5 separate regions of the Homo sapiens genome follow, and all the other regions are linked to region 1. Evidence: promoter capture Hi-C in human tissues and cell types (Jung and others, 2019). All regions are on one chromosome and are shown on one strand. The core of a region is centred on a gene start or on the middle of the fragment in contact, and the rest is flanking DNA. Distances in the headings are between cores, read along the strand shown.

Region 1 (2,700 bases), core at 92-2,591:
CTATCTACACCACGTAAATGACAGTCATTCAATTCCAAATTTCCTTCATCAAACCAACTGCCAGACCCACTGTCCTGGAGTTCTTCAAACACCTACGAATGTCCAACAGGCACGTTAATACTGAGATACCAGCGTCTCCACCTTCAGAGAACTACCCCCCACCCCACACACACCCCGCCATGCAACCTTCCACTCCATTTCTACTCTCAAACTTTCTAACGCACCATTCTTTCCTTCCTCCGAGAAGAAGGTAACTTACATTTGCAGCATAATTTGGTTCAAAAAGATGCCGTCCACTAAATCCATGTACATAGTCAGGTTGTCCTGGCTGCCGCTTCCAAACGGGCCAAAAGTTTTCACCTGCGGGGAGGGGGACGAGGAGAGAAAGACAGGAAGTCACCCCGTGCGCACAAACGGTCCAAAGCTCTCCCAGGCAGAGACTGGACGGGTCAGTGTGAGCAGAAGGGGGTCACCCACGCCCACACCACCCTTCAGCAGGCACCAAGCCCGGCCTTCTCCTAGGGCCTGTCTCCCCTCCCCGCGCGGGGCAACAGACACGAGACAGGAGGAAAAACTTCCTCGCCACTTTTCTCCCGCGTTCCAGAGCGGAAGAAATAAAAATAAAAAGGACTTTTCAATAAATGTCTCACGTCTCAAATCCATTGTAAATCAGTGCGCCCACCCCAGTCTGTTCGCTTTCCCATTCGGCGCCCCCCATTCCCCACCCGTCACCGCCATCCACCGGCTGGTCTCAGGGATTCAGAAAAACTACATGAGATATTTGGTTGGGAAGAATGGGGTCCTTTTCGGGAGTGGCTAAACCCCAGGGACAGGAGTGACCACTGGGACCCGGTCCGCCCCGAGGCAGCCAGCCTAGAGCCCCAGCGGGAACAGGTGTACCCGCCCGGCTCCTGGCCCGGCCGAAAGCGCGGCGGGGTCCCGCGCCGGACGCACAACGGGGGCGCCGGCTCCAGAGTTACAAAGCTCCGGACTCCAGGACGCGGCCCCAACCCCGGCCGGGAGCCACTTGCTGCGTCCCTCGCGCCCCGGAGCCACCCGGGGCCCCGGCCGTGTCGGGTCTGCGGCGTCCCGTCGCCGGGCTAGAGAGAAGCCGGTGCACCAACAAAGGGGCGGGGAGCCAGGCGCACTCACCCAGGTCACCAGCGGGCTCTGCAGGAAGAGCTCCAGGAGCTCCGAGACTGTCACGTCCATGCTGAGGCTGCGCCCGCCGGCTCCGCGCCCCCCGCCCCGCGTCCCCGTTCCCCCGCGCCGCGGCACAAAACGGCTCCGCAGCGAGCAGCGGGCGCGGGGCTGCGGCGGCTCGCGCCCGGGAGACAAAGGCGGGGCGCGCGAGCCCACGTTCCGCGGCTTCGGCGGCCCCGCGCCCCGCCCGGGTCTGGGGGAAGGGGAGGGCCAGCCGCTCGGGGAGGAACAATACGGGCGGCCCCGCCCCTCGGCGGCCCTGGGCGACCGGCGCGCCGCCTCGCGGTGCCAGCCCGGGAGCCCGGGAGCCCGGGCGCGGGACCAGGCTACGCGGGGCGCTGGGAGGGGACTGGTGGCCCGAGGCGGGTGGGTCGCGGGGCCCGGCTCCCCGCCCGTGGGACCGCGCGCCCTCGCCGAGCGCAGCCTCCCCGCGTGTGGGGCCCCAGCACGTGGCGCATCCCTGCGCGCGTGCGCGTGCAGCCGGGGCCCGAGCGCCACGTGCGAGCTGGGGTGCGCGGGCACTGGTGCGTGCCGGGAGCGGGGACGCCCTGCCCTCCGAGGTTGCTCTGCCCTCCGAGGTCGCCCGCAGCTGCCGCCCGCTCTGGGCTTGGGGACCTCGGCCCTGCGCCTTTCCGCACTCCTGGCAGGTGCAGCCCCAGGTACAGTCAAGAGGCCCCGCAAACCCCCGCTCCTCACGCTTGTGCGCGGCGCGATAAACGCGCCCCGACCCTGGGGCTGGGCTGGAGGGCAAAGAAGAAACTTTATGTTGAGTTTAGGCCTTAGGGGCGCGGCCCCTCGCGCCCTACCGTGCCCCACCGTGCCATGTTCCGGGCTGCCTGCCTTCTAAAAGTTCCTGCAGGAAGCAGGTGATGTGGCCTCCCCGACCCGGGCCCGCCCCCACCACTTTGCCGGAGGCGAGCTAAATTCCAGCCGGGGTTCCTAGCAGCAGCTTAGTGGCAGGCGACAGGAAAAAGGGCAAAGGCCCCAACTGGCTGGAAGGCAAGCCCGGGGGCAGGACCTCCTTGCGGGACGGCACGAGGCAGGAGCCGGCTCCAGGCTGGTCTCGGCCTGGTAATAATTTCACACCACCAGCCGGTCATTGTTCAAAGCACTGTAGACCATTTTACTAATTTAACCCTAACGATCGCCGCATTTCGCAGCTGGGCCAACTGGTACAGGGTTGACCCGAAGGGCCCTGCGTGGCGCTTGGCAAGTATACAGCAGGCACTAAATGGCTGCCGACAGGCTCGGTGGTAATTTTGAAAGTTGGCTCTGTGCAGCGTTGGGGCTGCGGCATCTGCTGGTGGCGAGTGGTATTACAGCCCAGCGCTGGCGGACCCCGTTGGGCTGGGGAGGGTTGTGAGATTATGGCCTGAGAGCCAAGGGGGTCGGTTAGGGGTCCCTAGAGACTGTGGAAGGCGGGGTAGCATAAAACACAATGGGGGACTGCGGAGGAACTAAAATTTCGAGACTACATGGTTTTGTTGTGCACCAGAA
Region 2 (2,700 bases), core at 164-2,663, 490 kb before region 1:
TATGGAAAATAGTATAAATGTTCCTCAAAAAATTAAAAGTAGAACTACCATATGATCTAGCAATCCCCCTTGTGGGTATATATCCAAAAGAATTGAAGGCAGGCCTCTTGAAGAAATATTTGCACAACCACGTTCACTGTATTATTCACAATAGCCAAGAGGTGAGAGCAATCCAAATGTCCATCAACAGATAAACGAATAAACAAAATGTGGCATATAAATACCATGGAATATTATTCAGCCTTAATAAAGAAGGAAATCTTGTCACATGCTACAGCATGCATGAACCTTGAGAACTATGCTAAGTGAAATAGTCACAAAAATAAAATAAATACTGTACAACTCCACTGACATGGGATATCATAAGTAGTCAAACTCACAGAAATAGAAAGTAGAATGGTGGCTGCTGGGGGTTAGGGGACGGGGGAAAAGGTATAGAGTTTTAATTTTGCAAGATGAAAAAGTGCTAGAGATCTGTTACATAACAAAATGAGTATTATTAAAGCTGCTGAACCATATATTCACAAACAGTTAAGATGGCAATTTTTGTTTTGTGTTTTTTTAACCACAATTAAAATTTTTTTAAAATTAAAAAAATAAGCCGTAAAAGAAAAGATTTAGTACATTGGATATTAAAATGTTAAATGGCAAAAAAGATCATTAAACAAAATTAAAAACAAGTTAAAATTTTAGAAAAGAAATTTACAAAACATATAGTTATAAAGGGTTGGTATCTATAATACTTAACGAACTCCAACAAATCAATAACATCAGGGGAAAAAATGCAACACTGTGATAGAGAAAACATAGAAACAACCTAAATGTACCTCAGTAGGAGAAAAGATAGACTGGATAACTAATATAAAGGATTATTACACAACAGTTAAAATAAATGAAACATCCCATTTATCAGCTTGGATAAATTTCAAGAATAGGTCAAATAAAAAACAATTTGCAATAGAATATGTCATGTATGTACATTTAAAAAACATGGTAATAGTATATATTGTTTACGGATATACACACATGAAGTAAGGGTACTAAAACACAATTAAAATTAATCCACCACATACTCTTTACCTGCACCAGTGCAGCTACACATTGTTGGAGAAAACCATATAATCAGGTTGGCCGATTTTATTCAATCATTCAATCATTCATTCATTCATTCATTCATTTGAGACAGGGTCTCATTCTGTCACCCAGGCTGGAGTGCAGTGGCATGATCTTGGCTCACTGCATCCTCTGCCTCCCGGATTCAAGCAATCCTCCCAGCTCAGCCTCCCAAGTAGCTAGGAATACAGGCACGTGCCACCATGCTCGGCTAATTTTTTTATTTTTTTATAGGAATGAGGTCTCACTGTTGCCCAACACTGTTCCCCAGGCTGTTGAGTCTCAAACTCCTGGGCTCAAGTGATCCTCCTACCTCGGCCTCCCAAAGTGCTGGGATTACAGGCATCAGCCCAGGCAATTTCACTTTAAATTCATGATCAGGAATCTCACATGGGTCTTAATAGTACCCAGCAAACACATTCATTTCCCTAATCCGTTCACTCTCCCACATTGTTAGTTGGTTATTTTATATCATCTCCTTTCTCCTAAAACCTCGATGTGTCCACTCCCTTCCTCATACTCAGTGAGAAAACAGAAGACCTTCTATAAGCTGCCAGTACACACCACTTAACCTCCACCCACATGTGTGCCTAGTAACTCAACTTTCTTCAGTTTCTAAGCATGAACTGACCATGCTACTCGTTAAGCACTAGTAGCATGATCACGCACAAACTCACTTGTGCGTTTGACATTATCCTTCTCAAGGACAGTGTTCCAGCAATTTCCCACTTTACCTGCTGTATTATTATAGGAGATAGATATCTGGGTTTGGGTGGTAGATATCAGTGTATCTACCCCACTTCCTTTTGAGGACTATTCTAACTAGTGTATGACATCTGTAATTTCTCCCATCTTAGGGGAAAAAACCCTCTTTTCATCCTCACTTCATCCTCTGCTATGCTCTTCACAGAATTTCACTATTCCTTTTAACAGAAAACCCCAAGTTGTCTACATATGTGGAAGACAATAAGGCTACTGCTATTCTCTTTCCTAAGGTTAAAACTGAGCCAATCAATGCTCAATCTTCAGTCCCCATCTTATTTAACCTAACAATAGCATTTGACACAGTTAATCATTTTCAACCTTGAAACATTTTTTCACTTGTCTTCTGAGACAATCCACCTTGTTTTCCAAATTCCAAATTCATAGATCCAGACCAGACTTCTCTCCCAAATTCCAGACTCATATAGCTCACTGCTTAACATCTCTGCTGTGTGTCTAATAAATGTCTCAAACTTAACCTGTCCAGCTGAACTTCTCCTCTTGTAACCCCAGATAGCTCCCCATCAGCAGCCTACCCCATATTAGTTGATGGAAATTTCATCCTTCCAGCTGTTCTGGCCAAAAACCTTGGGGCCACACTAGATTTCTTCTGAATTCTCATACCCCACATCTAACTCATCAAAAAATTCCATTAGATCTAATGTCAAAATAGTCCTAAAATCTGCTACTCCATAGTCTAGGCCAGTTCCATCTCTTGCTGGGATTACTTCAACAGTTTTCTATCTGGACCTCATGTTTCCACACTTGTCCCACTACAGGATTATCACAGTTATCAACCAGAATTATTCTTCCAAAATAGGAGAT
Region 3 (2,700 bases), core at 123-2,622, 430 kb before region 1:
TAAAAAATGAAATCATGTCCTTTGCAGCAACACGGATACAGCTGGAGACCATTTTCCTAAGCAAACTGATGTAGGAAAAGAAAATGATCTCACTTATAAGTGGGAGCTAAATATTGAGTACACATGGAAATAAAAATGGAAAGAATAGATACTAGGGCCTACTTGAGGGGAGAGGGTAGGAGAAGGGTGATGGTTGAAAAACTACATATAGGGTACTATGCTCACTACCTAGGTGACAAAATCATTTTTACACCAAACACCAGCGACAGGCAATTTATTCAGGTAACAAACCTGAACATGTACCCCCAAACCTAAAATAAAAGTTGGGGAAAAAAATAGAAAGTAGGCAGAATATCAGGGTAAGCTGGGCGAAAAAAGACAGGGGAAACTGAAAGCAAGGCAAGAATTTGGGCTTGAATAGTTAAATGGGAAAAAATGCAGTATATGTTCTTAAATAGAAAAACTGCACGAAAATGTTGTATTTTAGCAAGACTGTATATTACGTATAACAGCATATGATATTAAAATGCACAAATGGAAGAGAGCCTACAGAAAGGCAGACAGGTTAAGACACCCCTTGAAAGAATCCATGCATAAGGTAAAATGAGTGATGGCACTTTCCGTTCTTAGGCCCAGAAAAGGTAAATCCAAGGATCACTTTAAGGGGAAAATTATAGGACTTTGTGAGAAAATAGAAGTAAAGAGGCTGGGCTGGGCGCAGCAGCTGATACCTGTAATCCCAACACTTTGGAAGGCCGAGGCAGGTGGGTCACTTGAGGTCAGGAGTTTGAGACCAGCCTGGCTAACATGGTGAAACCCTGTCTCTACTAAAAATACAAAAATTATCCGGGCATGGTGGTGCACATTTGTAATCCCAGTTACTCGGGAGGCTGAGGCAGGAAAATAGCTTGAACTTGGGAGGCAGAGGTTGCAGTGAGCTGAGATCACACCACTGAACTTCAGCCTGGGTGACAGAGTGAGACTCCATCTCAAAAAAAAAAAAAAAAAAAGAAGAGAGATAAAGAGGTCAAAATAGATAGAGAAGAATCCAAAAAGAATCCAAAATTATTTAAAAGTTTCTAGCTCAGAAAACTGATCAAGGTTAGTGATAGGCCAAAGGAAACCAGATAGTTCAAGAGAAGCAAGTCAATCTGAGTAAAAAAGAGTTTTATGCATATTAGATGTATTTAAGTGTCAAAAAGTAAATCTTTGATATTCAAATATTCCACAGTCTTCAAGATATTTGATGAATAGCATTTTTTTCTAGTTTAAATATATAGAAATTAATTCATCAGAAGAGTTTTCAGTTTCATTTCCAAAGAAAACCTTACATGACACATGAAGACATCTGATGAGTCTTTCCTATTATTCTAAGTAGTGCTGAAAAAAATTTATCTTAAAAAGGTAATGAAACTGAAAGATTAGTGGTAAAATTTTTGAATAAAAATTGAGATTTTATTATATTCATTATAAAAGCTTCCACCTACTCCATTTAGTCATCAAAACTGTGATTTTTTAAAGGCAGATATACTTACAATGACATTTCTTAGTTATCCCATCTTCTCATAAGAGACTACACTGTCAGCTGGCAAAAAGGAAAAGCAGTCTCCATGGCTGACAACTGATCCATTATAAAACAGTGCACACACACAAAATGGAAATACAAAGGTAAAACATTACAGGTAAACTGTTTCCTTACCTTTACAGAATTGTCTTCAAGGCCTGTAACCAAACTACTCAGTGCAGATGTATAATAGATAATGAGTCAAAGTATTCAATGTGTTGAAAGAAAATACACACAAGGTTTGACTATATAAATTTGATATTAAAAATTTCACATATATAAAATGGGCTGATAATCTGCCTTCTTTATACTGTCCTAGTGTGTTTTTTGGAATCAAGGTTACACTGGACTCATACAATGAGTTGGAGGAAATAATCCCCCTTTTCCTGTTTTCTGAAAGAGTTTGTGGAAGATCAGAATTATCTATGCCTTGAATGTGTGGCAGAACTCATTCTTAAAACTGTACTGAGTGTCTTCCCAGCAAGAGGATTTTTGCTTACTGACCAATCTCTTTAACAGTTATAGGACTATGTAGGTTTCTCACACCTTTTTTCAATCAGTTTGGTAATTTACACATTTCAAGATTACTGTGCATGTTAAACTTTGAGGAACATTACTTCAGGAAACTAACTCCTGTCACCTCCCAAATTAAATGCTATTTTGTCCAATTTTTCAGTTTTCTTTTTTCAACTCCACAAATGAGACATCGTGACGAGAGCTTTACACAGTCAGTATGCTTTAGACTGTTTGTTCAGTAATTCTTTTTGCATCTCGGAAAATTCTCCAGGGATTATTTTCCTTCTTCCTAAAACTACTTCTTTTAAAATTCTCATAGGGGACCTATTGGTAGAAAACTCACTCAGCTTTTGTATGTTTGAAAATGTTGGCTGGGCGTGGTGGCTCACACCTGTAATCCCAACACTTTGGGAGGCCGAGGTGGGCAGATCATGAGGTCAGGAGTTCGAGATCGGCCTGGCTAATATGGTGAAACCCCATCTCTACTAAAAATACAAAAATTAGCCAGCCATGGTGGCATGAGCCTGTAGTCCCAGCTACTCAGGGGGCTGAGGCAGGAGAATCACTTGAACCCAGGAGGCGGAGGTTACAGTGAGCTAAGATCGTGCCACTGCACTCCA
Region 4 (2,700 bases), core at 128-2,627, 500 kb after region 1:
CATAGAAGACAATTTTGAGGGGCCATTATATTTCCAGTGCCCATTTGTGGAGTTATTTTGGAATATCAAGTAGCTGGAAGGATTGGACAATTTGAGCAGAGATAATTCTTCTAACGCCTGGTCAATAGATGTTCACTCAACTATCATTCAATTATATCAGCAAATACTTACTAAATGACATCTACATTCTTGGCATTGTGCTAGGCATTGTGGATACCAAAGTGAATAAATCATGAAGACCCTATGTCCTGATGACAACGCAATTAAGTTATAAATCAATAACAAAAAGATAATTTAAATCCCCATAAATGTGTAACATTCAGAAACTCACCACTAAATAAATCATGGATAACAAGAAGTGATTACAGGGAAAATTAAAAATTCTTACAACTTAATAGCAATAAATACCATACATCCAAACTTATAGGTCACACCAAAAAATATGTAGTCTTAAGTGCTGACTTAATGAAAGAAGAAAGGCTTACAGTTAATGAGCTAAGCAACCAGCTTAAGAAATTAGAAAAGGGGCCATGCACAGTTGCTCATATCTGTAATCCTAGCACTTTGGGAGGCCAAGGCAGGCAGATCACTTGAGCTCAAGAGTTCGAGACCAGCCTGAGAAACATGGCGAGGCCCTGCCTCTACATAAAATACAAATATTAGCTGGGCGCAGTAGCTCATGCCTGTAATCCCAGCACTTTGGGAGGCCGAGGCAGGCAGATCACGAGGTCAGGAGATCGAGACCATCCTGGCTAACACAGTGAAACCCTGTCTCTACAAAAATACAAAAAAATTTAGCCGAGCGTGGTGGCAGGCGCCTGTAGTCCCAGCTACTCAGGAGGCTGAGGCAGGAGAATGGCATGAACCCAGGAGGCGGAGCTTGCAGTGAGCCGAGATCATGCCACTGCACTCCAGCCTGGGCGACAGAGTGAGACTCTGTCTCAAAAAAAAAAAAAAAAAAAAAAAACAACAAATATTAGCTGGGCAGTATAGTACATACCTGTGGTCCCAGATACTTGAGGCCCAGGAGATCAAAGCTGCAGTGAACCATGATCATGCCACTGCATACAGCCTAGGCAACAGAATGAGACTCTCGAAAAAATAAAAAAAGAAAAAAATTTAAACAGAAACAAATCCAAAACATAGAAAGAAAAGAATAAAAAACAGGAATTGATGAAATAAAAGCAAAAGGAAAAGAAAGAGATCGGGGAGAGCAACAAAGCAAAATATTTCTTTTTGAAAACAGCAAACTGATATGACTCTGGCAATATCTGTGTGGTTTTTTTTTTTGTTTTGTTTTGTTTTGTTTTGTTTTTTGTTTTTTAATTAAAGAATTAACACAAGGCTGGGTGCAGTGACTCACACCTGTAATCCCAGCACTTTGGGAGGCTGAGGCAGGCAGATCATCTGAGGTCAGGAGTTTAAGACCAGCCTGACCAACATGGTGAAACCCCATCTCTACTAAAAATTCAAAAATTAGCTGGGTGTGGTGGCGAGCACCTGTAATCCCAGCTACTTAGGAGGCTGAGGCAGGAGAATCACTTGAACCCAGGGAGTGGAGGTTGCAGTGAGCCAAGATCGCACCACTGCACTCCAGCCTGGGCAACAGAGCAAGTTTCTGTCTAAAAAAATAAAAAATAATAAAAAAAAAAGAGTTAGCACAATATTGGGAATGAAAATACAACAGAACTACAAAGTCAGCAAAGATCAAATAGATAACACAAAGAATGGTAAGAAAAAGCTTATGCAAATGAAGCTAAAAACTTATTAAGTAGACAAGTTCTTAGAAAAAGGTAACTATGTAAAACTGACTTAAGAAGAAACAGAAAGTGCAAACAGTCCCCTAACTTTAAGAAATTATATCGTAGCGGCCAAGCACGGTGGCTCACGCCTGTAATCCCAGCACTTTGGGAGGCCAAGGCGGGTGGATCACGAGGTCAGGAGATCGAGACTATCCTGGCTAATATGGTGAAACCCCGTCTCTATTAAAAATACAAAAAAATTAGCCCAGGCGTGGTGGTGGGCACCTGTAGTCCCAGCTACTCAGGAGGCTGAGGCAGGAGAATGGCATGAACCCGGGAGGCGGAGGTTGCAGTGAGCCGATATCACGCCACTGCACTCCAGCCTGGGCGACAGAGCAAGACTCCATCTCAAAAAAAAAAAAAAAAAAAAAAAAAGAAATCATATCAGTAGCTAAAAATCTTCCCACTCACACACCCAAAAATACCAAATCTCAATGATCTTATAGGCAAATTCAAATAAACTTTCCATGAATTGAATTTGAATAAAATTTCCATGAATGACCTAAGGTTAGACCATTCTAACTTTCCAGAGAATAGAAAAGGAACAATATCTCACTCTATCAAGCTTATATGTGGACACCAAAACTAGTAAGAGTAATATTAAAAAAGAAATGTGGCAGGTCATTCTACTTTATAGACATTAATGACAAAAATCCTAAATAAAATGTTAGCCAAACAAATCCAGCAGTATATTGTAAACAAATCATACTATAACATGACCAAAGATAATGATGGTTACATATGGTAAAAATCTACCATTCTTTGCCTTTTATTTTTTGTTGTTCCTAAGGGCAGGATAACAAAGAACAGCTCAAAAGAATTCAGGTGGCCAGGCACGGTGGCTCACGCCTGTAATCACAGCACTTTGGGAGGCCGAGGTAGGTGGATCACTTGAGGC
Region 5 (2,700 bases), core at 81-2,580, 390 kb before region 1:
TGGGAAAAGGTCAAGTTAAAATGCCTGCAGAGGAAACTGTTCATGTGAGCAAGCTAAATCACCCCCAGAGAACCCCAAAAGGCTCCAAATTATAGAAGCACCTGTAATCACCAAAGGCAGAGGACTGGGGAGGGCAAGATAAAGAATGCAAACAGGGGAAATGTCTGAAACGGATTTAAGGAGTTTTATTCCCCAAGTCCTCACACTCGTAACACTTAGGATTAATAATTTCCTGGGAGAAGAACCAGATTTGGGGTCACTGGGTATAGAGAGAAGCAAGGATGAGGTAAGAACGGAAAATGCAGAATAATATATAAGTCTACACACGCGCTGTTGGTTTCAGAAAGCAGAGAGCCAGGCTAATGTTCCCCAAGAAGTCCAGAGGATCCTTTTATGGAAAAATGAACAAACTTGGGTAAAAGTTGTTGATATTGACATATGGAGCTCCCGGTGAAAAACTATACCATGTAAGCCTCCAGCCAGCAAGACAGAGTTTCTAACCAGCATTTTGGTGTCTTATTCACATTAACAGTCAAGGATCACCAGACAATTGAGAGAAATCCCTAACATGCAAGACACCAAAATAAACAGAAAAAAAAAAAAAAAAAAAAAAAAAAAAGGAAGTTCAGAAGAAAGAGAGGCAACCCAGGGTACTAGGAAAATAACTTCATAAAAAGTATAATTATCCTTAAGGAGGTATATAGTTCAACCATAAAATAGAAAAAGAGAGCAATTAAGAAGAAATAAAACAAAAAATCAAGCTCTTAGAAAACTTTTAAATCTGTATAGGGGGAGCCTATTAAAGGTCTAGATAATAAAGTTAAAGAAAGAGACCAAATGTAAAGTAAAGATGCAAGGAGATAAACAACAGGAGATTAAAAAAATTTAAAAACACAGAATAATCTTGGAAATCCAGTATCTAAGAGAATTTTAGAAAAAGTGAACAGAAGAACCCAGAGGAGGACTAATTCAAAAAATATCCCCAGAACTAAAGGAGTTTTAATGGGCATACTCAGTGCTTAGCAAATAAATTTTAAAATATAAATGTAAAATTCCAAAATTCCAAACCAGGGATAAAGAGAGGATCCTAAAACCTTCCAGAGATTTTAAAAAATAGGTCACATACAAACCACTGGAAATAAGAATGGTATCAAACTTCTCATCAGCATCATTAGAAGCTAGAAGACAATGGGATAATGCCTTCAAAATCCCAAGTAACAATTCAATCTACAACTTTAAACCAAGCAAACCTGTCACAAATATGAGAACATAATGAAGACATTTTAATATCTGAAAAAGCTTTTCCAAAAAAAAATCTCCTATGCAAGCTTTCTCAGCAATCTACTGGAGGATGCGCCACAGATATAATACTAAAAAAGAGGACAGCCATTGGATCCAGGAAACAGGATTAAGCACATAATTCCCAGGATGATAGTGAAGGAAAATCCCATTATGACAGTTACACAAAGTTGAGAAAGAAACCAATCCAGAATGGAAGAGACGGAACAGAGTTCCACAAAGGACTGTCTTTAAGAAAAAAAGAACTCATGGGTTATCTAACCTATAGAAAATCATAATGAAAAGTATTTTATAAAGCTGTTAAAACATGTAGAAACACTTAGAGACTCAAAGAAAGCTAAGTGAATGAAAAGACTGGGGTAATTTAACTCCAGGAAAAACAACCAAAAAAAACTTATTTAAGGAAGGAAAAAAAACATAAAACACTTGGCCCCACAATGAATATTTATATAGCCATTAAAAACTGAATGTGGATTCAACCAAAATTATAATATAACTTCATTAAGTAGACAGGCAGGGAAATAAAACAGGTCTAAAATTGATGACTCAAGAGTTTTAAAATGCCACTTGAAATTGGTAGAAAATATTAGAAAAGAGTAGAAACTGGGAATAAAATCCCTCTTGTACTATTTGACTAAGTATTTATATGGATCGTTTTAATAAAAATTTTAAAATTAAACAAAGAATATTTATTGAGTACTCTTTGCGGGCGACATTATAGGCAGGTCCACTTAAACACCGTTCTCACCATTCTCAACTACCTTCTCCCCTTGGGAAGCTCAATATCTGATTTCATAGCCTCCCTTGCAGAATGATGACCATGTGATACCATGTGACCAAAAATTCAACATACAGAAAAGTCTAGTAAAGAGGATTTCAAAACCTACATTAGAAACTGTTTTCCTCTTCTCCCATATTCTTTTGTGAATGTGAATAATCAATGAGGGCAAAAGCTAAAACACATTTAAGCCTGCCAGAGCAGAAAGAGTCTAGATTCTTAGGGGCTTGGGCTTCCTGGCTCCAGACTCCCTGTTATGCAAGGATTTTAAAAATCCTTTTTAGTTAAGCCACTGTAGTTGAGTTTTCTTACTTGCAGCTAAACACGCACAGTTACTATGACAGACACTGGGAAACAAAGATGATGAAACAGTTCCTCCCCACAAAGCACACTATCTGCTAGAGTGAACGGAATCAATTAAAAAAAAACTATAATACCTAACTATGCACTACAGCCAAAATGTGGTGCTGCATGAATTCCAAAGAGGCAGGGGCAACACATCTAGTTGGAACATCAGAGATAGCTTCATGCTTGACGGCTATGGGTCCTGAAGAACTGAGTGAGTTTTAACAGGAATATATAGTCCACATCAAAGAAACAACATAAGCAAACATGCACGGGAA

The links. The method cuts DNA at HindIII sites, captures the fragments that hold promoters and counts their contacts. A contact is called where the count stands out against the background at its distance.
Region 2: a fragment that was not itself captured here is called in contact with the fragment with the promoter of CCDC88C in region 1 in 1 of the 25 tissues and cell types used here (lymphoblastoid cells).
Region 3: a fragment that was not itself captured here is called in contact with the fragment with the promoter of CCDC88C in region 1 in 1 of the 25 tissues and cell types used here (lymphoblastoid cells).
Region 4: a fragment that was not itself captured here is called in contact with the fragment with the promoter of CCDC88C in region 1 in 1 of the 25 tissues and cell types used here (hippocampus).
Region 5: a contact is called between a fragment that was not itself captured here and the fragment with the promoter of CCDC88C in region 1, in 1 of the 25 tissues and cell types used here (bladder).

Annotation. Positions count from the first base shown.
Region 1 is chr14:91,416,479-91,419,178 of GRCh38, forward strand. It overlaps CCDC88C (coiled-coil domain containing 88C), which reads right to left and starts at 1,342. Exons shown (of 30, transcript NM_001080414.4): 1 at 1,153-1,342; 2 at 260-360. The coding sequence starts at 1,212. It overlaps CCDC88C-DT (CCDC88C divergent transcript), which reads left to right and starts at 1,768. Exons shown (of 3, transcript NR_184261.1): 1 at 1,768-1,862. It also overlaps the pseudogene LOC112268126. RefSeq lists enhancers at 1-217, 1,823-2,467 and a silencer at 838-1,757. The HindIII fragment of the contact is 13,115 bases long and covers 1-2,700 here.
Region 2 is chr14:90,930,963-90,933,662 of GRCh38, forward strand. The region is part of intron 5 of RPS6KA5 (ribosomal protein S6 kinase A5); the gene reads right to left. Among named protein-coding and RNA genes, the nearest start is that of LINC02321, 100 kb to the left of the region's middle. The HindIII fragment of the contact is 5,911 bases long and covers 1-2,700 here.
Region 3 is chr14:90,990,711-90,993,410 of GRCh38, forward strand. The region is part of intron 2 of RPS6KA5 (ribosomal protein S6 kinase A5); the gene reads right to left. Among named protein-coding and RNA genes, the nearest start is that of RPS6KA5, 69 kb to the right of the region's middle. The HindIII fragment of the contact is 3,689 bases long and covers 1-2,700 here.
Region 4 is chr14:91,913,535-91,916,234 of GRCh38, forward strand. The region is part of intron 4 of FBLN5 (fibulin 5); the gene reads right to left. Among named protein-coding and RNA genes, the nearest start is that of FBLN5, 33 kb to the right of the region's middle. The HindIII fragment of the contact is 4,313 bases long and covers 1-2,700 here.
Region 5 is chr14:91,030,021-91,032,720 of GRCh38, forward strand. The region is part of intron 1 of RPS6KA5 (ribosomal protein S6 kinase A5); the gene reads right to left. Among named protein-coding and RNA genes, the nearest start is that of RPS6KA5, 29 kb to the right of the region's middle. The HindIII fragment of the contact is 5,621 bases long and covers 1-2,700 here.